Regions from separate parts of the Homo sapiens genome. Here region 1 is linked to region 2. Evidence: promoter capture Hi-C in 16 types of primary human blood cells and fetal thymus (Javierre and others, 2016). All regions are on one chromosome and are shown on one strand. Each heading gives the region's core, a stretch centred on a gene start or on the middle of the fragment in contact. The rest is flanking DNA. Distances are from core to core; before and after follow the strand shown. Region 1 overlaps SKAP1 (src kinase associated phosphoprotein 1). Region 2 holds the start of PRAC1 (PRAC1 small nuclear protein).

The links. The method cuts DNA at HindIII sites, captures the fragments that hold promoters and counts their contacts. A CHiCAGO score of 5 or more calls a contact.
Region 1: a contact is called between a fragment that was not itself captured here and the fragment with the promoter of PRAC1 in region 2, in 1 of 17 cell types (M2 macrophages). The highest score is 5.3, in M2 macrophages.

The regions. Positions count from the first base shown.
Region 1 is chr17:48,287,748-48,294,383 of GRCh38, forward strand. The region is part of intron 4 of SKAP1 (src kinase associated phosphoprotein 1); the gene reads right to left. It overlaps SKAP1-AS2 (SKAP1 antisense RNA 2), which reads left to right and starts at 6,600. Exons shown (of 2, transcript NR_131240.1): 1 at 6,600-6,636. The HindIII fragment of the contact is 629 bases long and covers 4,927-5,555 here.
Region 2 is chr17:48,719,255-48,723,835 of GRCh38, forward strand. It overlaps PRAC1 (PRAC1 small nuclear protein), which reads right to left and starts at 3,264. Exons shown (of 2, transcript NM_032391.3): 1 at 3,064-3,264; 2 at 2,465-2,645. The coding sequence starts at 3,138. The coding sequence ends at 2,547. PRAC2 (PRAC2 small nuclear protein) reads left to right here and starts at 3,931. Exons shown (of 2, transcript NM_001282275.2): 1 at 3,931-4,059. RefSeq lists enhancers at 3,210-3,724, 3,725-4,240. The HindIII fragment of the contact is 8,116 bases long and covers 1-4,581 here.

The DNA of each region.
Region 1 (6,636 bases), core at 3,991-6,490, 430 kb before region 2:
TCAAATACCCGTCAGCTGTACATAAGGTCTCATATACCAGCTTGCTTATCAACACATATATACAAACGCAAGTGGAAAAGAAAGCCTATTTAAAATGTATATTTAGAATTGTTCACAGTAAATATTTGACACAGTTAACCAAAATGTCTTAGCACTCTCTTACGTCTTACATAGCATCATAATAAAAACACGTAACAGAATTCAAAGCAGATGGAGCTCAAAGCTAAGCCATAAACTTGTGTTTTTTAAAAAAGAGAAAAATTGGTAAAAACATGGACTGACTCAAGAGGAACTTGGTATATCTTTAATTTAATTACTGTATATTTAGTAACAGTGTTACTTAATTTGACAAATATTGAATTCTCTAATTGATTATTTGCTAGTCTGATTTCTATGAATTCATGGGAGAGTTTAAGACAAGTGGTAACATTTAATGAAGGCGTGTTCTGATTAATTATCTCTCAGTGATCTGTCTGACATACAGTGAGTTATGAAAGTCATCAATAATTTCCCCTTATTTTTAAATAGCAATAATTCTCTCTCTATAAGAAGTTATATCTTAAGGGTTTTTTAAGCTATAATTCATCAAAAACAATGAAGCACTGGCTAAGAATCTATCAAAATAGTGGCTGACTACCAGATTGAAAATAAATTTACGCTGGGTGCAGTGGCTCACACCTGTAATCCCAGCAATTTGGGAGGCCAACGTGGGTGGATCATCTGGGGTCAGGAGTTCAAGGCCATCCTGGCCAATATGGTGAAACCCCGTCTCTACTAAAAACACAAAAATTAGCCGGGTATGGTGGCGTGCACCTGTAGTCCCAGCTACTCGGGAGGCTGAGGCAGAAGGCTCGCTTGAACCCAGGAGATGGAGGTTGCAGTGAGCCGAGACTGAGCCACTGCACTCCAGCCTGGGCGACAAAGTGAGACCATCTCAAAAAAAACCAAAGCAAAGAAAAGAAATTTAAACATTTTAGTACTGGAGGCAGACTGCTAGGAATCTTAGCCAACTTGTTATCATAACCGTGTCTACCTAAAGGCAAGCAAGAGAAATGCTGGGAAATAGCACAAAACAGTGATTTTGAGAAAATACAAGAATGATATATACATATAAAATAAAAGTATATAAACTTGTGCAGTGTATAGCAAAATAGCTACTTGTAATATAACATGAATAGTGTGGCTTCAGGCAATTGAACAGAGAAGTGAAGCTGAACGCTGCTATGCCAACCAAATGGCAAATGTGACACCTGATAATGTAAAACAGAGGCATCCCCAGGGCACCATGTAAAATTATTATAAAGTGGTGAAATAACAATATAAAGTTAATTTTATTAAAATTAACAATACTTCCCATCAGCACAAGACAATCTATATTCAAAATTAAAACAGTAGGAATGTTTATCTATTCAAGCATTCTGATAGGCTAAATATTGTTGACTGCTAAAAGAAATAAAGTTTTCAAGACTCTTTTTCCTATATATTCATAAATACTCATGCTTATGAGTAATATCATATTCAAAGGCCTGAAATTAAAAACATGTTTCCTTATGAAATTTGGTATATTTGGCATGTCATTAAAAAAATTCCTGCCTACTTTTTAAAAAAAAATTTGATATCTTGGAAATAAAAGAAGGGATAAACTGATCAAATTTTGCACTGTACTGTTTAACTACAATAAATAGAAATAGGTAAAATTAGTAATTTCACAGCATTATTTAAATATTAATGTTTGCTGATTTCTACTACTTTCTGATATTTGAAAAACTGATCTGCATTCACTTGCCAGCTGTGAGGTGTTGTGTTAAACAGAAGTATAAATTTTTAGGCTCTGTTAGCTTTCATAAAATAATACTGAGTGTTTTTTCTTGATTACAAAAAGAATGCAAGTTCATTACAGAAAAAAATGAAAATACAGAAAAGTACAAGGAAAAAAGAAATATTAGCCCTATTATGTTGTAATCTGTAGTCATTATTAACACTTTAGAACACATCCTTTCAGTATTTTTATCTATGCACCAATAAGTATATATATATATTTAAAAATTAATATTTAATCAAAAGTAAGCCTGAATGAAGACTACGTCATATTACAAAATGAATTTTATTTTTTCATCTAAACTAAAGGAGTATTTCAGAACATGTACCATGTTTCACCTAAAGAGTGGCTGCAGTTATATAATAAACTACATCTGCTGAAGAACTGAACATTAGTTTAAAATCCAGGAGTTAAGCAGTCAATAGTACCCTGAAGTGGGTGATGGAAATATTCTCAGAATTAGTATGAATTTTATTATTAAGGGACAGATGGATTTATAAGATCTCAAAATTTTGAGGCACATTCTCTATTTTAGATACTTGAAAAATCTGTTTCATATGTTTGGATATCAAAGTCCACTAAATCTACTATGATAACAATTCGTCTATGAGGCCAGTTTCATGTCCTTGATGATTAGAAACTAAACATGGGTTACAAGGTAGAGAAAGGGGCAATTCAAGAATTATTTGTAACTAAAGATGGTATGTTTTTTAATGTTATTATCAGAGGAAAGAAACAAAACCATTAAAAAATTATGTAACATTATTAAATTTAATTCAAGCCAATAATCTAAGCTTACACTGAACACTCATTCCAACTATTTAACCCTGGCTGCTGAGCTGAGGCTATAACAGCAGGTGGGTTATCAGACAATGCACTAGAATTTCACAAGATCGATTAAGTCAGAAGATAAACAAGAACTTCCCCAGCCTCTTTTATTCTTCCCGGATAATCTGTTTTATGTTCTTGAGGAAGGAAAGGCAAATCTTAAGCTTTACACTGTACCTTAGCACACTTTGTCTCTCTTCCCTATTTTATTTCTCACATAGTTTACATTACATCATGTCATTTCATTTATTGCCCCCTGAGGAATGCAAACTATGTGAAGGCAGGGTTTTCCACTGACATATCTCCAGTGCCTAGAACAGTACCTGGCACATAGTAGGTGCCCAGTAAATATCTGTTGAATAAATGAATGAGATTTCTGTAACTGGATAATTAGGGTTAGCAGAAGTCAATTTTAAATATTCAAAGAAAAGAAAAATATTTTACAAAAAATTAAAGACACTTCTGACCTGGTGTGGTGACTCACACCTGTAATCTCAACACTTTGGGAGGCAAAGGCAGGAGGGTCGCTTGAGGCCAGGAGTTTGAGACCAGCCTGGGCAACATGGTGAGAATGTTTCAAAAGACAAAAAATTAGCTGGCTGTGGTGGCATGCGCCTGTAATCCCAGCTACTCAGGAGGCTGAGGCAGGAGGGGTTTGAGGCTGCAATGAGTTATGATGGCACCACTGCACTCCAGCCTGGGTGACAGAGTAGACCCTGTCTTAAACAAAAACAAAAACAAAAACAAAATCATAAACTTTTGCTCAGAACTTGCATTTCTCTAACTTTGCAAGCACAAATTTTTATACCTGTTGACCACCTTCATGGGGTTACTTTGAAAATAGTAATTACTAAAGCCCACTTCACTGAAAATTTGAGAGTTAATTTTTAAAATTTCTGAATTTTGGGGCCACTGGTGCTGGAAAAAAAAATTACTCTCTCTGTTCTCTTTCTTGTAAAAAATTCAGTGCTAACCCACACAAATCCAGACAGCTGCCTCATCTATTCTGCTTCATCTATTCTCTTGCTGAGGACATTCTATATTCTTAGGTTCCTATTGAACAACAGCACCATTCTGAAAAATTTGCGTACTGGCAATCAAATCATTCTGCAAACAGTAACGCAGATTCCAATGATAAGATGAGTGAGCAGGATGCAAGAACATCTTAAAGATCACCTGCCACACTTGTGTTTGAGGTGCTCAATGGCTGTTTACACCAAGTGCCATCTGGCTCTATAGATATAATAACAATTATTCCATTGAGGTGTGTAGCTCCCTAAATCATATTAATATACAATGATTCCGCTAGTCTTATAGGAGTTGATGTCTTTGTGCGCTCTCATTTAACCTGGGTAATGCGCTAAAACAAGTCTGCCTCATCATTAAGAATTGATTTTTTATTTATGTGAATGTCACTGGCAATCCCATGATATCCCTTTGTAATTCAGTTGAACAGGACTGCATACTAGCGTTAATCTATTTTTATGGCATATCTTTAAAAATTTGCAACATCTTGCTACATTTGGATATTTATATAGAGATTTGTGTTCCTGCAGAAAGCTGTTGTTAGCTTTGGAGATCCACTTCATATAGCAATAGGGCAAGTATCTAATATACTTCATTAGCTATCTTATATCAGATAAGGGTTTATTTCTTTAAATTATTTAACCTTGGTATAACCTACTAAAATCACATAAATCACAAATACACTAATGAAAATCATTAGTTTAGCCTATTCAAAAAAAAAAAAAAGAAAGAAAGAAAGAAAAGAAAAAAGAAAACTTCCAACAGGGATAAAATTAAAACATTTTAAAATCAGCCCTCTGGAAGCATTTCATGAAAGTAACTTGGTGAATTTGTCATGATCACTCATTTCTTAATGTTGTCATTGGTCAATCGTTTAGTCATTGATGTTAACAACTATTCTGATGTGCTAACATTTGTAAAAAAAACCAAAAAAACAAAAACACATCGCTTTTTTTCTGGCTGATTCAAAATCTGATTTTAAAAGTCATAGTTACAACTATTTATAAATATGCCTTCATGAGTTTTGCTAATTTAAAATGAGATAAACACAATAAGCAACAATAAAAAGAAAAAATACATATTTTAAGATACCAAGAAAAAATACTACATCACAAAATTATACTTTAAATCTAGTCTTCCCAACAGTATTTACAAGATTATTAAATAATTACCTTATGGGGAAGTTCTGTCAGAACACCTCTCATATTTGGATGAGTATTATAGACTTTGAACCTGTTCATAAAGCAATAGCAAGCTTCTTCAGAAAGTCACTGAATTTTGGGCATGGGGAGATATGGTAAGTTATACTGCAGGTCTTGACCATTTCATGCTGCTGCTTTAAAGGCAGAATTACTCTTATGCTGTTGAATTTATCATACACAATTACTGATACTGCAACTCATAAGGAAGTTAAGCAAAGTTTCAGAACAAATAAATGAGGTAACAATTTTTCAAATCTAAAGGATTTTGAAGAGGATTGTCACTGCAAACTATAAACTACTGTAAGATTCTTGGTCTAGAACAATCTCTTGTGGATTATTTAGACAATTTTTAAAAAAGCACACTGGGGCAAGTTCATTTTTCTAACTTGAAAATATACGTCGTAAAACTTAATTAAAGGCTCAAACTTAAGAAAGACACATTCATAAAAAATCTACATTTGAGTTAGATTGTGAAATCTATGTAGTTTTCAATATAATATATTAATATCTGTAATCCTTAAGCTGTAATTTTTACAAATATGTTTTCCAAGAGCTGCATAAATTAACTTCTTTATGTATTGTATATGTTATAAATAACTAGAAGGAATTACGTACTTTTATATTCAATAAATAAATACATTTAAAGCTCAGATACTTTCACTAAAATAGATCCACAAAGAAGCTTGGAATGTTCTTCTGTGGTCTTCAGAACTATGTGTGGTGAGCAATTATCAGGAATAATACATGTGTCTGTTTTTGAATTCAGTAAGCCTTCTAAACATTATTTTAAAACTACTCCACAGAGATGATAAAAGGTGTATTAATCACCTAAATGCCTATAAATTGAGATTTAAGGTCAGAGATATTCCCTTAGTTTACTTAAGATATTCCTTGGATATCCCTTAGATATTTCCCTAGTTGTCCCACACGGGCTTGCTTGATCACACATCATATCCTGGTACATACGAGGTTCTGAGTTAGCACTGTGGAATTGGTGTACAAGGCTTACAAGTCAGCTTTTAAAACGTAATAATGATAGCATCTATAATACTATTCTAGTGATTCTATGCTTTTCTTTTTGTTAAAATCATCCCTTATTTTAGGAATAAGCTAAGTAAAGAGGGAACATGGAGTCAGACTGAAATCTACTTCAGGGCTCACCTTTGTCGGATGAACAGTGAACGCTCTGACATTGACATTCACAGCAGCATTGCTGCCGGGTATTGCTATAATTTGCTCTCTATGATTGTTCCTTTAAACAAAAAGCTCTGCGCTCAGCATGCAAAGAAGTTAGAAGTGCGGGAAGGAGGGGGAACCACACATATAAGAGGAGAGAGAGGAAAAAACTGCAGATCAATCATTTATAATTAACAAAAATCCGATTGGTGCTTTAAATAGAGATCAATGTGTTCCAGGCTGCCTGGATTGTGGGGATGTATTCACCTTCTGGTAACTCTCCAAGCAAGCTGTCACACCTACAGAATCACCATTTGTTTTCTTAACAAAGCTTCAGGGGGCGCCAGGCTCTCATTGAAATTTCATTAATCTAATGGAGTAAAGTCCTATAGAAAAAAATCAAATTCTCGTTGGACGAGATGCTACCTGGGAAAGATAACCTCTGTTTGAACTCTCAGACTCGGATCTCTCTGCTATTAGTCTGAGGAAACAGACAGCAACAACGCTGATTACAGCCACCGGCCTCAACAATTTTTTTTTCTAACTAGCAATTTCGAGTGCAAGTGCCACAGTGTCAGCTAAAGA
Region 2 (4,581 bases), core at 2,014-4,513:
CACTACTACCGTCTGAGCAGGCCGCTCCTCGCAGCCTCCGCAGTCGGCGGGTCGCCTGGAAAGACGCGCCGGTTTCCCGGGTCGGATGGCTCTCCAGGCCGCTATTTCCTCCGCCACCGAGTAGGGAGACGCCCCATTTGCGAAGTTTAAGTTTCCAGGTCCTGGGAAGGCAGCTGGGAAACCCGCGGGGCTCGGCAGCCGCCCTGGTAGCAGCCAGGGATCGGATAGCGCGGCGGGCGACAGCCCCCCGGATAACCCCGCCGAGGGAGGGGCGCTTGTAAAACCGAGCGGCGACGGCCTCGTTACGACCGACTCGAACATTCTCTAATAAATCATCGGCCTTAGCTAGTATTCGTTTGTGTACGCATCTGTTTATCCTGATTATTAAAATAAATTAAGGATTAGACTGCCTAGAATAAGGTAAACGAACATGAAATGCCAAGGAGGAAAACAGAAAAAGTTACACCATGTCGATCCCGACCAAAACATTGGCCTGACTTGCCGGATGGCCTCAAGAATCCGGCTTTTAGCTGCAGGCCCGGCGGGTGTTCCCCGGAAGGCAAGGATTGGAAGCTCTTTGATAAAGCCGCGCGAGGCCCGGTTTCTCGCGTTTCGGGTCGCTCCACAGCCCCCTCCGCCCTTCCCCTCCACCCCTCCGCGTCTCGGCCTGGCTCCGGAGGGGTGAAGGAATGTTTATAGCCTGACTCAAGTTCAATGACAAAAACCTGCCTGGAATGGGAGGTGCGGCGAGCTTCAGCCATCAACATGACAAAGGCTGGACGCAGGTCTCGGGCGGGGGCGACGGGCTGGGCCCACCTAGAGATGGGGAGCTGAGGGCCCACAGGATGGGTACGGACCCCGCAGACCAAGAGCTGCCTCTCTGCCCTCAGCCTGGGGTCTGCGGAGTTTGGCGAGTAGTGCGGGTGTGTGCCCGCCTGGATGAGGGTAAGGCGATCAGCCTCTGAGTGGGCAAGGGGACGTCTGATTACTGCCCAGGCTTCGCCTGGGGGTCCAGGACCCTGTGAGATGCCCCTGCTCTCTGCCTGGCCAGCTCTAGCTCACCCGGAGTAAGGATCCGCACCGTCCTTCTATCCACCGCGACCTGCATTTTCTGGCCTCCTCCGAGTTTTGTTCACATCTTCCCTCCCGGATTTGATATTCCAAGCATCTTCTCCAGGGAAGACTCCCAGAAGCCTTGCTTGTCTGTGTGTGTGTGTATCTTTCTCTTTCCCTGTTCCCCGTCCTGTTCCCCATTTGTTCTGATTGTAGTCATTTGGTCATGGAATAAAATCCTCTGGCCTCAGGTCACATATGGGGAAGCTGCAGACCCAAGATTTACCAGCATAGGAGTCAGGCCTGGTGGGAAGGGAGAGCATATTTCCAACTCTTTCCTCCTGTCTTCCACCCCTAGTGGAAGATTTTGCATACTCAATTAATGAGTAGTTGGTTGACAAAAATGTCCACACGTGTTTAATCCCCTGTTTGCATATATGCAGATCTGTCCAGTGCCTGAGGAGGGGCTGGGTCTAGGGTGTTTGGGTGCACCTGTGTGATCTCAGCTGGGTGACTCCGGATGGAAGCAGGTGCTTGTTAGTGTCTGAAGGGCCTTGCAGGGAGAGGTATGTTGACAATAGAGGAGTCCCTGGGCTTTCTATTTTTTCAGTTGGTGGTAGAGGTTAAGCGCTCCTGTTTTGGGACCCAGATCAAGTAACTTACCCTCTTAGTTTCAATTTCTTTAGGTTATAAAGTGCTCACTCAATTGTGGGTTTTGTCATTATGGGAGGGGGAACTGGCAGGGAAGGAGCCAGCTGTGGGGAGAAGAGAGTTAGGTGAGTCCTGAGTGTTTTTGTGGATTACTGTGCCCACCCCAAGACCAATGACTTGGCAATATCAGTGGTTGGCTGAAGATGTGAGCATGTGGTCCCCAGCCTGCTTCTGTACTGGACCCAGAGCCCCTGTGCGCACACATGCCTGCTGTGGCATTGATCCCACACTTGGCAAGGCAGAGCTTCTGAGAGGGTGCAGGAAAGGGAATAAGGAAGCCAGGGGCCCAGAGAAAAAGGTGCAATTATTATTATTATTATTATTTGTCACAGAGTCTCACTCTGTCACATAGGCTGGAGTGCAATGGCATAATCTCAGCTCACTGCAACCTCCACCTCCCAGGTTCGAGCAATTCTTGTGCTTCAGCCTCTTGAGTAGCTGGAATTACAGGTGTGAGCCACCATGCCCAGCTAATTGTTGTATTTTTAGTAGAGACAGTTTTCACTATGTTGGCCAGGCTGATCTCAAACTCTTGGCCTCAAGTTATCTGCCCACTTCAGCCTCCCAAAGTGCTGGGATTACAGCCATGAGCCACTATGCCTGGCCCGTTTTTATTTTTTTAAGGCCCAGAGCTTTTGCCTTAAGGATGAGTTAGTTTAAAAAAGAAAAATTGTTATAATCACAGTTAACTTTCACCCAGTTTCCTTTTTTAAAAAAATTTTATTGTATAAATAGAGACAGCGTCTTGCTACATTGCCCAGGCTGGTCTGGAACTCCTGTGCTCAAGGAATCTTCCTGCCTCGGCCTCCCGAAATTCCAGAATTACAGGCTGAGCCATCACTCCTGGTCTCGCCCAGTAGATGTTTCAAAGTAGATGTTTTCTAAAATATTTTACAATATTTACAAATTTTAAATAATAATAACGTTATCAATATTAATTTTGCTTATGCCAGGACTCCATCCCATTGGAGACAAACATTAAGTCTTATGGCAGACCTTACAGCGGGTGCTAGTTCCCACTCCCAAGCCTCTCCCCCGCCTAGGTCCTGCAGGTCCCGCGTGCTGCGAAACATTTTCTTTGTCCCTTTCTGCCCAGGGCGGCTGCCGGTCTCTCCAGGAACCGCGAGTAGGTGCTCCCGCCAGGTGGTATCGGTGAAAGCCTGCTGCTCACCCTTCCCTTGTTTCCCAAAACTTCTGAAGGCTCCCAAATTCCTGGGAGACCCTCTCCCAGGGCCTCCTGATGCAGCTACCATACTGAGCGATCCGTCGATAACGCCCTTGGCCCACCGATCAGTTTACCTTATTAGAGAGAAAAGCACTCTTGGAGGTAGTAAGATGGGCCGGTCCTTGATCTGAGAAATGGGCGCACAACATCGCTGTTCTCTCTGCAAAGGTGGGGACCAGAATCCAGCTTGCCTGACCTTGCAAGCAAGCATCGGCCTAAAGGTTTCAGCCTCCCAGTGGCGCTCTGTTTGCACGCCTTAGGCTAGGAGAGGAAGGACGGGAGCACAGCACTGGGTGCCCCTCTCCCTGTAGAGTCTGGGGCGGGGCTCAGTAAGAAGGCCTGCGGTTGGTGGCTCCCCACCTCATAGCTGCAAGTAGGGGCGAAAGCTGGAGTGTCTCCTCCCAGCAGCCTCCTCGCCTCCCCGCAAACCTCCGAATCTCCCTGGACCTCCTGGTTGCTGTGGCCCTTCCTCCCCTGATTGGCTTCCTCCCTCTTTCCCAAGGCCAGAGAAGTCCTCTCTTCCCCTCACCTTCCTCCCTCTTCCCATAAAACTTTTAGGAAAATGGGGGCGGGGGCGGTGGAGACCACCAGCCTGGAACTTCAAGTTCAATGGCAAAGTCCCTGACCCTCCCCCCAGGCTGGGCGCCAGCATTATTCTAGGGGCGATTAAACTCTTTTGCTGCCCCCTGTGCACCTCCCAGTTCGGGGGCAGTTTAGGGGAGGAGAGAAGGTAATGGTGGAATTCTTTCCCTCACTCTCCCCCGACCACTTCGTCCCCTCCCCCTCATCCCCTCTACACAGAACTAACTGGTAGGGAGAGAGGAAGAAAGGCTGGCATCGGTTCCTCATTGGATGTTTTAAATCTGTCTCAGGCCCAGGCCAGTGCCTGGGGGGAGGGGCGGGGTGTCCTGCTTTTGGGCTAGAGGCCCGGGGCCGCTCCCGAGCTTTCTCCCCTCTTCCCTGGAGAGCGACTGTTCGGGAGGGTGAGAATGGTATAAATTTCAAAAACAACGAAACCTTCTTTTGCCCCCTCCGCAGCAGTCGCCTCCGGGCTTTATTGCAAGTTTACGGTAACGAGTTCATCTATTTAATTCGCGGTTGCAGCTCGGGGATTTCTATTAGACAGGACGGGTTGGGGCCGGGGGGCACAGGGTCTCCCCTGAAGGAAACCCAATTAGAGTGCAGCACTTAGCACCTTCAATATAACTTTAATGAAGGGGGGGAGGGGAGCTGCAGGGAAGAGAAGTTTGCTCTAGGTTGGGGAAGGAAAGCTGGAGCTGCTCCCGAGAACTGGGGGGCCTGGATGAGGCTTTTTCCTGCTTCGAGGGCTTTCCAGCTTCCGGCCCGGGAACTACTATTTGGAGTAGGGATCGCCTGCAGGGAAGGCGGGGCGGATTCTCGGCTGGCGGCGGCCTCGCAGGGTTCCCGGAAGCGCTAGCCAGCCGGAGTAAAACCCGAAAGATGGAGCCTCAGGTTCGCGCTCTGCGTTGCGGGTGCTGGAACCGAGATTCAAAAAGAGCTTCCGGAGGTAGTTTCTACGCATTGCGCCACTACTCCCTTATTCGGCTTCTGGAGGCCTAATAAAATCCACT